Regions from separate parts of the Homo sapiens genome. Here all the other regions are linked to region 3. Evidence: promoter capture Hi-C in 16 types of primary human blood cells and fetal thymus (Javierre and others, 2016). All regions are on one chromosome and are shown on one strand. The core of a region is centred on a gene start or on the middle of the fragment in contact, and the rest is flanking DNA. Distances in the headings are between cores, read along the strand shown.

Region 1 (3,645 bases), core at 363-2,862, 71 kb after region 3:
TGCCCAGGCTGGTCTCAAACTCCTGGGCTCAAGAGATCCTCCTGCCTCGACCTCCCAAAGTGCTGGGATTACAGGTGAGCCCCCACATCTGGCCTCTAATTCTTTTATAACCTATTTCATTCCTTCTAATTGAGCTCCCAACAAAGGAGATTGTTTTACACACAGCTATGGCTTATCCCTTTGGTAAATTGATTTTATGGGTTCTATAGCTCAAATTAAATCAGCATCTCGATTCTCTAGGGCTCAAAAGATGCCTTGATTTGTGTCAGCTCAGGAAGGGGGCTTTTCCGGCACTGAATATGGTAGGCTTGGAGGTGCATGGCAGGTCTCTCGCCAATAGGTTTACAGAAGAGTCAGGAGGAAAGGGGAGCACTTGCTCCTTAGGCAAAGGCAGAGGGCCCATCTGATGGGAATTGGAGGGAAGGGAATATGTAGAAGGCTGAGTCAAGATACAAACAACCTGTACTGATGGAAAGCAAGAGCAAGAGCTTTCCAAGGCAAATGCAGAATAAGTAGCACCAGTCTGTATGAGAAAAGGCAAGGACAGGTCAGCCTGGCAAACAGTGACCGACATACACACACTTAACCCTAATCTCTTCCCGCCACTGCCATCTCCTCAATCTATCCATTTTGAGCCATTTGCAAAGTATCTCCTAGCTGAGAGTTTTATCCTCCTAGGCCCCCACCCCTGATTCTCTTGTTCCTGCCATCCTGCATGCCCCAGTCTCTTTGGACAATCCCTCTTCCAATGTCCTTGCTTCTTGCAATGATGACACGTGTCTTGCTTCCTTTCCTTTCTGGGTTGCCCAGAACAGGAGTTACTCCCTTTCAGTAAACAGACCTGAGCAGCTAACACAGAGTTTTTCAGTTTCTTCTTTTCTTCTTTGACTTTCTCTAGAGTCCCAAATACTGAATAGCTGCTCCTAAGCTTACATTATAGTCAGTCCTGCCATCCTACCACCTTTTCCCTTATTTGAGTTGTTGTTGTTGTTGTTGTTTGTTTTGTTTCTTGTTTTGAGACAGAGTTTTGCTCTTGTTGCCCAGGGTGGAGTGCAATGGCACCATCTCTGCTCACTGCAACTGCCACCTCCCAGCTTCAAGCAGTTCTCCTGCCTCAGCCTCCCGAGTAGCTGGGATTACAGGCCTGTGCCACTATGCCCGGCTAATTTTGTATTTTTAGTAGAGATAGGGTTTCACCATGTTGGTCAAGCTGGTCTCAAACTCCTGACCTTAGGTGATCCACCCACCTCAGCCTCCCAAAGTGCTGGGATTACAGCCTCCCAAAGTGCTGGGATTACAGGCGTGAGCCACTGCGCCCAGCCATATTGGCACTTTTTAAGCCTTGTGTTTTTTAATGTCCCGTTGACCAAAGCAAATCACATGGCCAAGCCCAGATCTGAGAGTGTGGAAAAATGGACTCTATCTCTTGCAGGGAGGAGCTGAAAGTTCCATCACAAAAGGGTATGCATCCAGGGATGGCAAGAATTTGAGGCCATTTTTGTGATCCAAGGACAGAGATTGTCCTCGGACATAAAATTCAAGGCTGGCAGTTTTTTTGTTGTTGTTGGCACATCAGATATACCATTGTCTTGTTTTCTGGCTTCTGTAGTTTGTGTTGAGAAGTTGGCTGTCAGTCAAACTGCATAACTATAAAAGTAATCAACCCACCCACCAGCTGCTTTGAATGTTTTCTCTTTGTCTTTGCTTTCCCTCAGTTTTACTATGATGTGCCTAGGTGTGGTTTTTTGTTTGTTTTATCCCGCTCTTGGTTCACGTGACTTCTAGAAACTGACTTGATATATTTCACCAGTTTGGAAATATTTCATCCATTAACTCTTCAAATATTATCTGTGCCCCATTCTTTCTCACCTTGTTTTTCTGAACTCCAATTAAGCATATATTAGGTCAAGCATGGTCGCTCATGCCTGTAATCCCAGCACTTTGGGAGGCTGAGGCAGGAGGATCCCTTGATCCTAGGAGCTCAAGACCAACCTGGGCAACATAGTAAGACCTCATCTCTACAAAAAAAAAATGAACAAAATTAGCTGGGCATGATTGCATGTGCCTGTAGTGCTAGCTACTCAGGAGGCTGAGGCAGGAGGATTGCTTGAGCTCAGGAGGTCGAGGCTGCAGTGAGTGGAGATTGTGCCACTGCCCTCCAGCCTGGGTAACACAGCAAGACCTTGTCTTAAAAAAAAAAAAAATACACGCACACACACATATATGAGACCTTCTTTCTGTATCCCCTATGTTTCTTACCTCCTTTTGCATTGTCTTTTACCACCTTTTTACCTCTCCAAGCTTTAGTCTGGCTATTTTCTTCTGATTTATCTTTCTGTTTACTATTTCTCTCTTCAGCTCTTGTATATCCCACCCATTGAGCTCCTAACTTTAATTTGTATATTTTATATTTCTAAATTTTTCACTAGATTCTTTTTGTAGTTTCAAATTATCTGCTAAATTTCTCAATTCTGTCTTTTGTTTCCTTGAATTATTAAATATAATTATTTTAAAGTCTGTATCTGATAATGCCATTATTTGGAGTCCTTGTGGCTCTATTTTTATTATATTACTTTTCTAATTTCATTTTTATTAAATTTTCTTTTCTCCTTATGACATGTTTTGTTTGTTTTTAAGACAGGGTCTCACACTGTCACCTAGGCTGGAGTGCAATCATAGCTCACTGTAACATTGAACTACTGGGCTCAAGCAATCCCCCTGCCTCAGCCTCCCAAGTGCTGGGATTACAGGCATGAGCCACCATGCTGGGCCTTGTCCTCGTTATTTTTTATTGAGTGCTGGACATTGTGAATGGAAACTATAAATCATTTGAGGCCAAGGACAATGTTATCTTCCTCCAGAGAAAATTTACATTTGTTTCTGGCAGGCAGCTGGGGCACTAGAAATCCTGATCACCTTAATCCAATTTTCAGGGATTGAAAGAGCTCAAATCTTGACTACAGTCCCTTAGGGGACAGGGATGCAGTCCTTTAGAGGGCTATTCTATTTCCAGTTTACACTTATTCCTAGACCTTTGGGTTTCCAACCCAAAGCACGAGGAGCTTACTAGGGCCTTCTTCCTTGGTGAGCCCTGCACTCTGACTTTTGACCCCTCACCTCTTAAGTCTGCTAACTGTTCTGCTCAGCTTCTTGGGCCCTCAGCTGTCTCTGCTGGAATTAGCGGATGGCCATAGGGGATAAGCAGCCTTAAATGCTGAGCTCATCTCTCAGCTCATTTCCTTTCTCCCATATCTTGGTCCCATATGCTTCACTGCCTATTATCACTTGGATATTTTCAAGCAAATATTTTCCCTGTTTTACTGAGTCTGTTTAGTTGTTCTCAGTGGAGGTTGTGGTTCAAATTACTTATTTTGTCATTGCCAGACACAGAAGTCATTCAGCACTAGGTTTTAGGCTCTATTTATATTGTTGAGTCTACATATAATCTTGCTTCCAAGTACTGCATAACACTCCCTAATGTTTTATCTGCTTCCTTAGTCACTACAAATAATGCTACCATGACCTTTGTCATGCAGGCCATTGCTCTGTCACCCAGGTTGGAGTGCAGTATCATGAACATGGCTCACTGCAGCCTCAACCTCCTGGACTCAATGGATGCTCCTGCCTAAGCCTCTCACGCAGCTG
Region 2 (3,306 bases), core at 218-2,717, 110 kb after region 3:
CAAGTCCCAGGAGAAGCAGGAGGGACTGGCCCTGAACAAGAGGCAAGCCACCCCCCCACTGCCATGTGCTTGCTGTTGGAGGTTAGGGGGACACCAAGTAGACAGATGACTGTCTCTTTCCCTTCAACGTCAAGTGCTTCTCACAGCCCTGCTCCCTGTGACCCAGCCCTCATAGACACAGTGGACTGGACAAGGGAAGCCCCAGACTCTGACCCTGTGATGAGCATGCAGAAGACGCAGAAGCCACAGACGACAGTGGGGCAGTAAGGAAGTGCCAGCAGGCAGGCGGGGTGGGCTCAGCCAGACGTGTCTTTCTCTGTTCTCCTTTCAATCTTTCTGTGTCTTCATATCTCAGGTGTAGCGCTTGGAAACAGCACATAGTTGGGTTTTGGTTTGGTTTGATTCTGTCTAACAATTCTTGTCTTTTTAAAAATCAGCTTTGAGACCTGCCTGGGCAACACAGCGAGACCACGTCTCTACAAAAAAAATTTTAAAATTAGGCATGGTGGTGCATGTCTGTAGTCCCAACTACTCAGGAGGCTGAGGTGGGAGGATCGCTGGAGCCCAAGAGGTTGAGGCTACAGTGAGCCATGATCACACCACTACACTCCAGCCTGGGTGACAGAGTGAGACCCTGTCTCAAAAAAAAAAAAAAAAAAATCAACTTTATTGGAGTATAATTTACATACAGTAAAATTCATCCTTTTGAGGTTTACAGTTCAAGGAGTTTTGGTGAATGTTGTGTGCAGCCAACCACTCCCACCACCCCCTGCCCTTGGCCACCACTGATCTGATTTCTGTCTTTTCTAAATTTTATTATAAATGGAATCATACCGTATATATTCTTTTGTCTGGCTTCTTTCACACTCACGCAGCATACTTTTTGAGCTTCATCCATGTTGGTGTGTGTGTTTGTGTGTGTGTGTGAGAGAGAGAGAGAGAGAGCATGCGGGCGAGAGAGAGCAGTATATTTCCTTTTGATTGCCGAGTAGTATTCCATTGTTTGGTTGGATCAGGGTTTGTTCAGCCATTCACTCACTGAAGGACACTTGGGTAGTTTCCAGCTTTGTGTGATTATGATGGAGCAGCTCTAAACATTTATATGCAAGCTTGTGTAAATGTGTGTCTTCATTTCTCTAAGGTAACCGCTTAGGAGTGGATTGTTCAGTCAAGTGGTAGATTGATGTTGAACCTGCCTTTGTCTTTGAACTGTGCAGGTCAGCTGGTCACACGGTGATGACTGCTGCTATCTCTGGATGTAGTCACGCCAGGTGAGTATTTGCTTTCTATTTGTCCTGCTTTCCCCATCTCTCTCCCCCACCTCCACTTTATTATTTTTTATTAGTGTTGTTATTACTTTGAGACAGGGTCTCACTCTGTTCCCTAGGCTGGAGTGCAGTGGTGTGATCATGGCTCACTGCAACCTCGACCTCCTGGGCTCAAGTGATCCTCCCACCACAGCCTCCCAAGTACTGGGACAACAGATGTGCCACCACCACACTTGATTAATTTTTTTTTCTTTTTTGGTAGAGGTGAGGTCTCACTATGTTGTCCAGACTGGTCTTGAACTCCTGGGCTCAAGTGGTGATCCACTGCCTTGGCCTCACAAAGTGCTAGGATTACAGGAGTGAGTCACTGCACCTGGCCTCACCCCCACATTGTATCAGTGAAGGTGTGTCTGGAGTTGGTTCCTTCCAGTGGGTTCTTGGTCTCGCTGACTTCAAGAATGAAGCCGCGGACCTTCGCGGTGAGTGTTACAGCTCTTAAAGGTGGCACAGACCCAAAGTGTGAGCAGCAGCAAGATGTATTGTGAAGAGTGAAAGAACAAAGCTTCCACAGCATGGAAGAGGACCCAAGCAGGTTGCCGTTGCTTGTGGGGGGCGGGGGGGGGCCAGCTTTTATTCCCTTATTTGTCCCCTCCCATGTCCTGCTGATTAGTCCATTTTACAGAGTGCTGATTGGTCCATTTTACAGAGTGCTGATTGGTCCATTTACAATCCTCTAGCTAGACACAGAAAACTGGTGCGTTTTTACAGACTGCTGATTGGTGCATTTACAATCCTTTAGCTAGACACAGAGCGCTGATTGGTGTGTTTACAATCCTCTAGCTAGACAGAAAAGTTCTCCAAGTCCCCACATCACCCAGGAAGTCTAGCTGGCTTCACCTCTCAAAGGTTCAGGGTAGGAAGCAGAAATTCCTCCCGTGATCATGAACAGAAAGGGATTCTGTAGAAGGGATTAGATGCTTACCTGACCATTGGATGGGCCAAAGGAGTGGACTCTGGGCTAGGTGTTGATAACACCAGTGCAGACCTGGCTCCTCAAGGGAGCTGCTACCTCTGCCACCATCCACAAGATGGGGGATTGGGAGGCGGCCAGTGTAACCTTTGAGTTCAAAAAGACACCACCAAAGTCATGACCTGAGGATCAGCAAGCTGGGACCAGGAAGCCATTGCTGCCACAAGTGCCCCTCAACAACCAAGAAGTGAAGGTTAGACCCCAGAAATTCTTTGATGTCCAGCAGAAACGCAGCCCCACACAGCAGAAGTGTGGCTTCCCTTCCTTCAGTCATCCAAACTTCATGTGAGCACACCCAATTTGGCAATTGGCAAATTTGCCAATTTGCCAATTGGCAAAACTAAATTTGCTTCCCAAAGTCCAGCTGCTCTGGAGTCTGGAACATTTCCAGCCTCTGCCATGCAGAGCCCACAAGGTGGGAGTGAGTGCCGAGAGCTGTCAATATGCCCAGGCAGATGCTCTGCTCTTGGTCATCTTTTAGATGGACTGGATTTGTTCTCTCATTCTATTTTCTCCTCTGTTTGTTTAGAAGTGCTCTATGAATTTTTTAGTAGTTCCTCTACCTATTTTAACATGCATTCTTAATAAAGTCTAAAGTTAACTAATACCTCTGCTCTGGTGGTTTTAATGTAGGTCCATAAATTATTTGATACTCCTGCCTTCAAAAGGTAGTGCTTAATTCTCCTCCTCTTGAGTATAGGCTGGACTTGGTGGCTCACTTTTTTTTTTTTTTTTTTGAGATGGAGTTTCGCTCCTGTTGCCCAGGCTGGAGTGCAATGGTGTGATCCCAGCTTGCTGCAACCTCCACCTCCTGGGTTCAAGCAATTCTCCTGCCTCAGCCTCCCAAGTAGCTGGGATTGCAGGCGTGGGCCACCACGCCCAACTAATTTTTGTATTTTTAGTAGAGATGGGGTTTCACCATGTTGGTCAGTCTGGTCTCGAACTCCTGACCTCAAGTGATCCACCTACCTCGGCCTCCCAAAGTGCTGGGATTACAGGTGTGTGAGC
Region 3 (3,380 bases), core at 881-3,380:
AGGCACCCTCCTCTGCCCGGGCAGATTATCAGTGCCCTGGAGGAGGACCCTGTGGGCCAGAAGCTGCAGCTGGCCTGCCGCCTGCAGCAGGTCGCCGCCCTGGTGGAAAACAAAGTGACTGACCTGTGAGCTCTGGCTCAGACAGCAGCAAGCCGGATCCACCAACACCGCAGCGCCTTATGACCCCGGAACCGAGCCAGCCACTGAGGGGAGCTGGCAGAGCCTGGGGGCACAGGGTGCAAAGCCAGGCACTGTGCCCAGCAGTGGGCTCCCTGCCTGCCACCTCCCCTGCCAGCCCACCCACCTTCCCCCCACCTGAGATTGTTTCTAATTTATAAGGATCCCCCTCCTTCCCCCTCTCCCCATTGTATTTATTTGCCTGCTGGAAAATCACATCCGGAAATAAAATAGAAATATGTCTTTTTATTTTATTTTGAGACGGAGTCTCGCTCTCTCTCCCAGGCTGGAGTGCAGTGGCGCAATCTCGGCTCACTGCAACCTCTTTTTCCCGGAGTTCAAGCAATTCTCCTGCCTCAGCCTCCCGAGTAGCTGGGACTACAGGCGTGTGCCACCACACCCGACTAATTTTGGTATTTTTAGTAAAGACAGGGTTTCCCCATGTCGGACAGGCTGGTCTCAAAACTCCTGACTTCAGGTGATCTGCCCGCCTCAGCCTCCCAAAGTGCTGGGATCACAGGCATGAGCCACCGCGCCTGGCCAGAAATGTCTTTTGACAAAGGGCCCAATCCCCAGCCCCTGCTGTTCCCTGCAGGAGCTGACTCAGTGCTCTCCTGACTGAGAGTCCCTCAGCCCCATGCCTATAACCTGCTACCCACAGACAAAGAGAGGCCATCAGGTACCCGGGCTTCACTTTCCCTCCCACTCTCTGACCTCGCTGGCCCCTCCAGCAATGCCTGGCCCACCCCTACCAGTTCACGGACCCTGGTACAGGGACACTGCACCAATATCTTGGGACAAACACCCTCTCTGCCGAGCCCCCTCCCTTTCATTGGGACTCCTCTGTCAGGCCCCAGCTGGCCTCCCGGCTCCACCCTCGCCTCTCCATTCCCTTGTCCTTGAAGTGGCCAGAGTGATCTTTTGCTGAGCAGAAGCTCAGTGACCACCCCCCAACCCCATATCACCCAAGCTCCACATTAAGCCTACAGACACCAGGCCTCTAGTCCTCGCCCTCGAACCATGCGGCAGCCGTGGCCAGCACGTGAAGGGCTGGAACGCGTCTTGGCCGCAGGCCTTGCCCCACTGTGCCCTGTGCTGCCCTGGATGCTTCTGGGGACCCAATTTCTCCTGGTCTCTCATGATGCAGCCCCTGGGTCACAGGCCCCTCAGTCACCACCGCACTCATGGGGAAGTGGCTATGGGCTTGCTTGTCCCCAGCAGTGAGCAGCTTCCTGCTGCCTCCCTCATGTCTGGCTATGGAGCAGCCCACGACAGGCACCTTGCAAATGGTGGAGAGGAAGAGCAGGCGCTGGGAGCCAGAGCGCCAGGCAGCGTCGCAGGAGCAGGTTCTGGGCTGGCAAGCTCCCAGGCCTCCCCTCAGCAGGCCTGTTGCCTCTGGTAGGGGAAATGAGGGGTCCCCAGTGACGCCACATTCAGAGGGCACTGGACTCCCAGTTGTCCTAGGGGCTGATGAAACATAGAAGAAGCAGGAAGTGGCTGGGAGCAGCCAGGGACAGGGTTCCCATGGGAATGAGAAGGGCACCTCCAGGAGGATGCCCACAGGGGCACAGGTGGTGGGGGCTTGGCCTAAGGACCAGGTTGCCAAGTGGAGCACATCCCCACAGTCCGCACCGGAGAACGGGAGCCCGACCTGGGGTACGGGCTGCTTCACCCCCGCGTGGACCTCCCCCTCAGCTGGGGTGCGGAGGCTCAGCCTGGGGGCCCAGTTGCCCCTGGTCCCCAAGCAGCAGCCCCCTCTGCCTCCAGGGTGGGCCTGGAGCAGGAGGGGGGCCTCTGCCCGGGGGCCGGGCTCTCTGGGGCCGCCGTCGCGCCGCCCCCTCCCCGCACCGCATACCTTGCCCACAGCCGAGCAGCTGGGAGGCTATTTATAAAGGCGGGTGAGATCAGCGGCCGGCCAAGGCTATAAATTCGCAGGCCGCGGCCGGGCCCCACAGGAGCAGCCGCCCGGGGCACCGGAGCTGCGGGCTGCGTGGCCGGGATGAGCGCCAGCACGGGCGGTGGTGGGGACAGCGGCGGCAGCGGCGGCAGTAGCAGCAGGTAGGGCTCGGCTGGGGCACCCGGAGCCCCTGGCGTCTCTCATGCCCACTGCCACTCACCCCACCCGCAGCTCACAGGCCTCCTGCGGGCCCGAGTCCTCGGGCTCCGAACTAGCCCTGGCCACACCGGTGCCTCAGATGCTGCAGGGCCTTCTGGGCTCCGACGACGAGGAACAGGAAGACCCCAAAGACTACTGCAAGGGTGAGACTTGGCCTTGGGGACATGCGGCCTCACGGCCACTGCAGGGACCCAGGGCAGTCCTGGGCCCACATGGGCCAGATGGTCAATGGGGCCGAGGTGTTCGGGGGCCCAGGGGAGTGAGAACCCCCTCCACCCCAATCTACATCTCCCCTGGGCAGGCGGCTACCACCCTGTGAAGATCGGCGACGTGTTCAATGGGCGGTACCACGTGGTGCGCAAACTGGGCTGGGGCCACTTCTCCACCGTCTGGCTCTGCTGGGACATCCAGTGAGTGCCTCCTTCGCCTCCGGGGCCCAGCACTGGCTGGGATCCTGTCCCTGGGCTTGCTTGGGGCCACCCTGATCCCCGCCGTGGGTCCTGCCAGGGCCACAGCCTACAAGGGTCTCGGTATTGCAGGCGCAAGCGCTTTGTGGCCCTCAAAGTGGTGAAGAGTGCGGGGCATTACACGGAGACAGCTGTGGATGAGATCAAGCTCCTGAAATGTGTGAGGCACCTCCCTACCCCACTCCCAGCTCCCCTGGAGCTGCCTGGGGCCTGGCAATGCGGGTGCAAGGCCTGCCGGGGCTCTGTGGGGCAGGGCGGGGCTCCCTGAGGGGCAGCCTCCAGCTGGCTGTGCCCAAGGGGGAGGATCTGGAGGAACAGGCGAGGGACAGGAGGGGTTGGCGGCCTTTCTTCCAGCAGGGCCCAGCTGGAGCAGGAGAAGGGTACACTGAAGGGAGCTGTGGGCTTCAGGGCAGGGTGGAACCATCTGTGGCCCCTTGGCTTTTGCTCCAGGTCCGGGACAGCGACCCCAGTGACCCCAAAAGAGAGACCATTGTCCAGCTCATTGATGACTTCAGGATCTCAGGAGTCAATGGAGTCCGTATCCTTTGCAGGAAGAGCAAAGCAGTGTGGCAGCCAAGGGCCGGCAAATGGGGGGGCCCTCGCTGCTAGAGCCTGTCTGC

Evidence for each region. Contacts are between HindIII fragments. The CHiCAGO score rates a contact against its expected background, and 5 or more counts as called.
Region 1: a contact is called between a fragment that was not itself captured here and the fragment with the promoter of SRPK3 in region 3, in 1 of 17 cell types (M0 macrophages). The highest score is 5.2, in M0 macrophages.
Region 2: a contact is called between a fragment that was not itself captured here and the fragment with the promoter of SRPK3 in region 3, in 3 of 17 cell types (naive CD8 T cells, M0 macrophages and M1 macrophages). The highest score is 6.1, in naive CD8 T cells.

Annotation. Positions count from the first base shown.
Region 1 is chrX:153,850,564-153,854,208 of GRCh38, forward strand. No RefSeq gene overlaps it. Among named protein-coding and RNA genes, the nearest start is that of PDZD4, 22 kb to the left of the region's middle. The HindIII fragment of the contact is 1,373 bases long and covers 927-2,299 here.
Region 2 is chrX:153,888,331-153,891,636 of GRCh38, forward strand. It overlaps L1CAM-AS1 (L1CAM antisense RNA 1), which reads left to right. Exons shown (of 7, transcript NR_130768.1): 7 at 167-660. Among named protein-coding and RNA genes, the nearest start is that of L1CAM, 3.8 kb to the left of the region's middle. The HindIII fragment of the contact is 721 bases long and covers 1,108-1,828 here.
Region 3 is chrX:153,778,911-153,782,290 of GRCh38, forward strand. It overlaps SRPK3 (SRSF protein kinase 3), which reads left to right and starts at 2,131. Exons shown (of 15, transcript NM_014370.4): 1 at 2,131-2,235; 2 at 2,306-2,436; 3 at 2,595-2,703; 4 at 2,833-2,920; 5 at 3,211-3,298. The coding sequence starts at 2,177. LOC124905227 (a long non-coding RNA gene) reads right to left here. Exons shown (of 2, transcript XR_007068355.1): 2 at 404-3,380. PLXNB3 (plexin B3) reads left to right here. Exons shown (of 36, transcript NM_005393.3): 36 at 25-431. The coding sequence ends at 129. The HindIII fragment of the contact is 52,875 bases long and covers 1-3,380 here.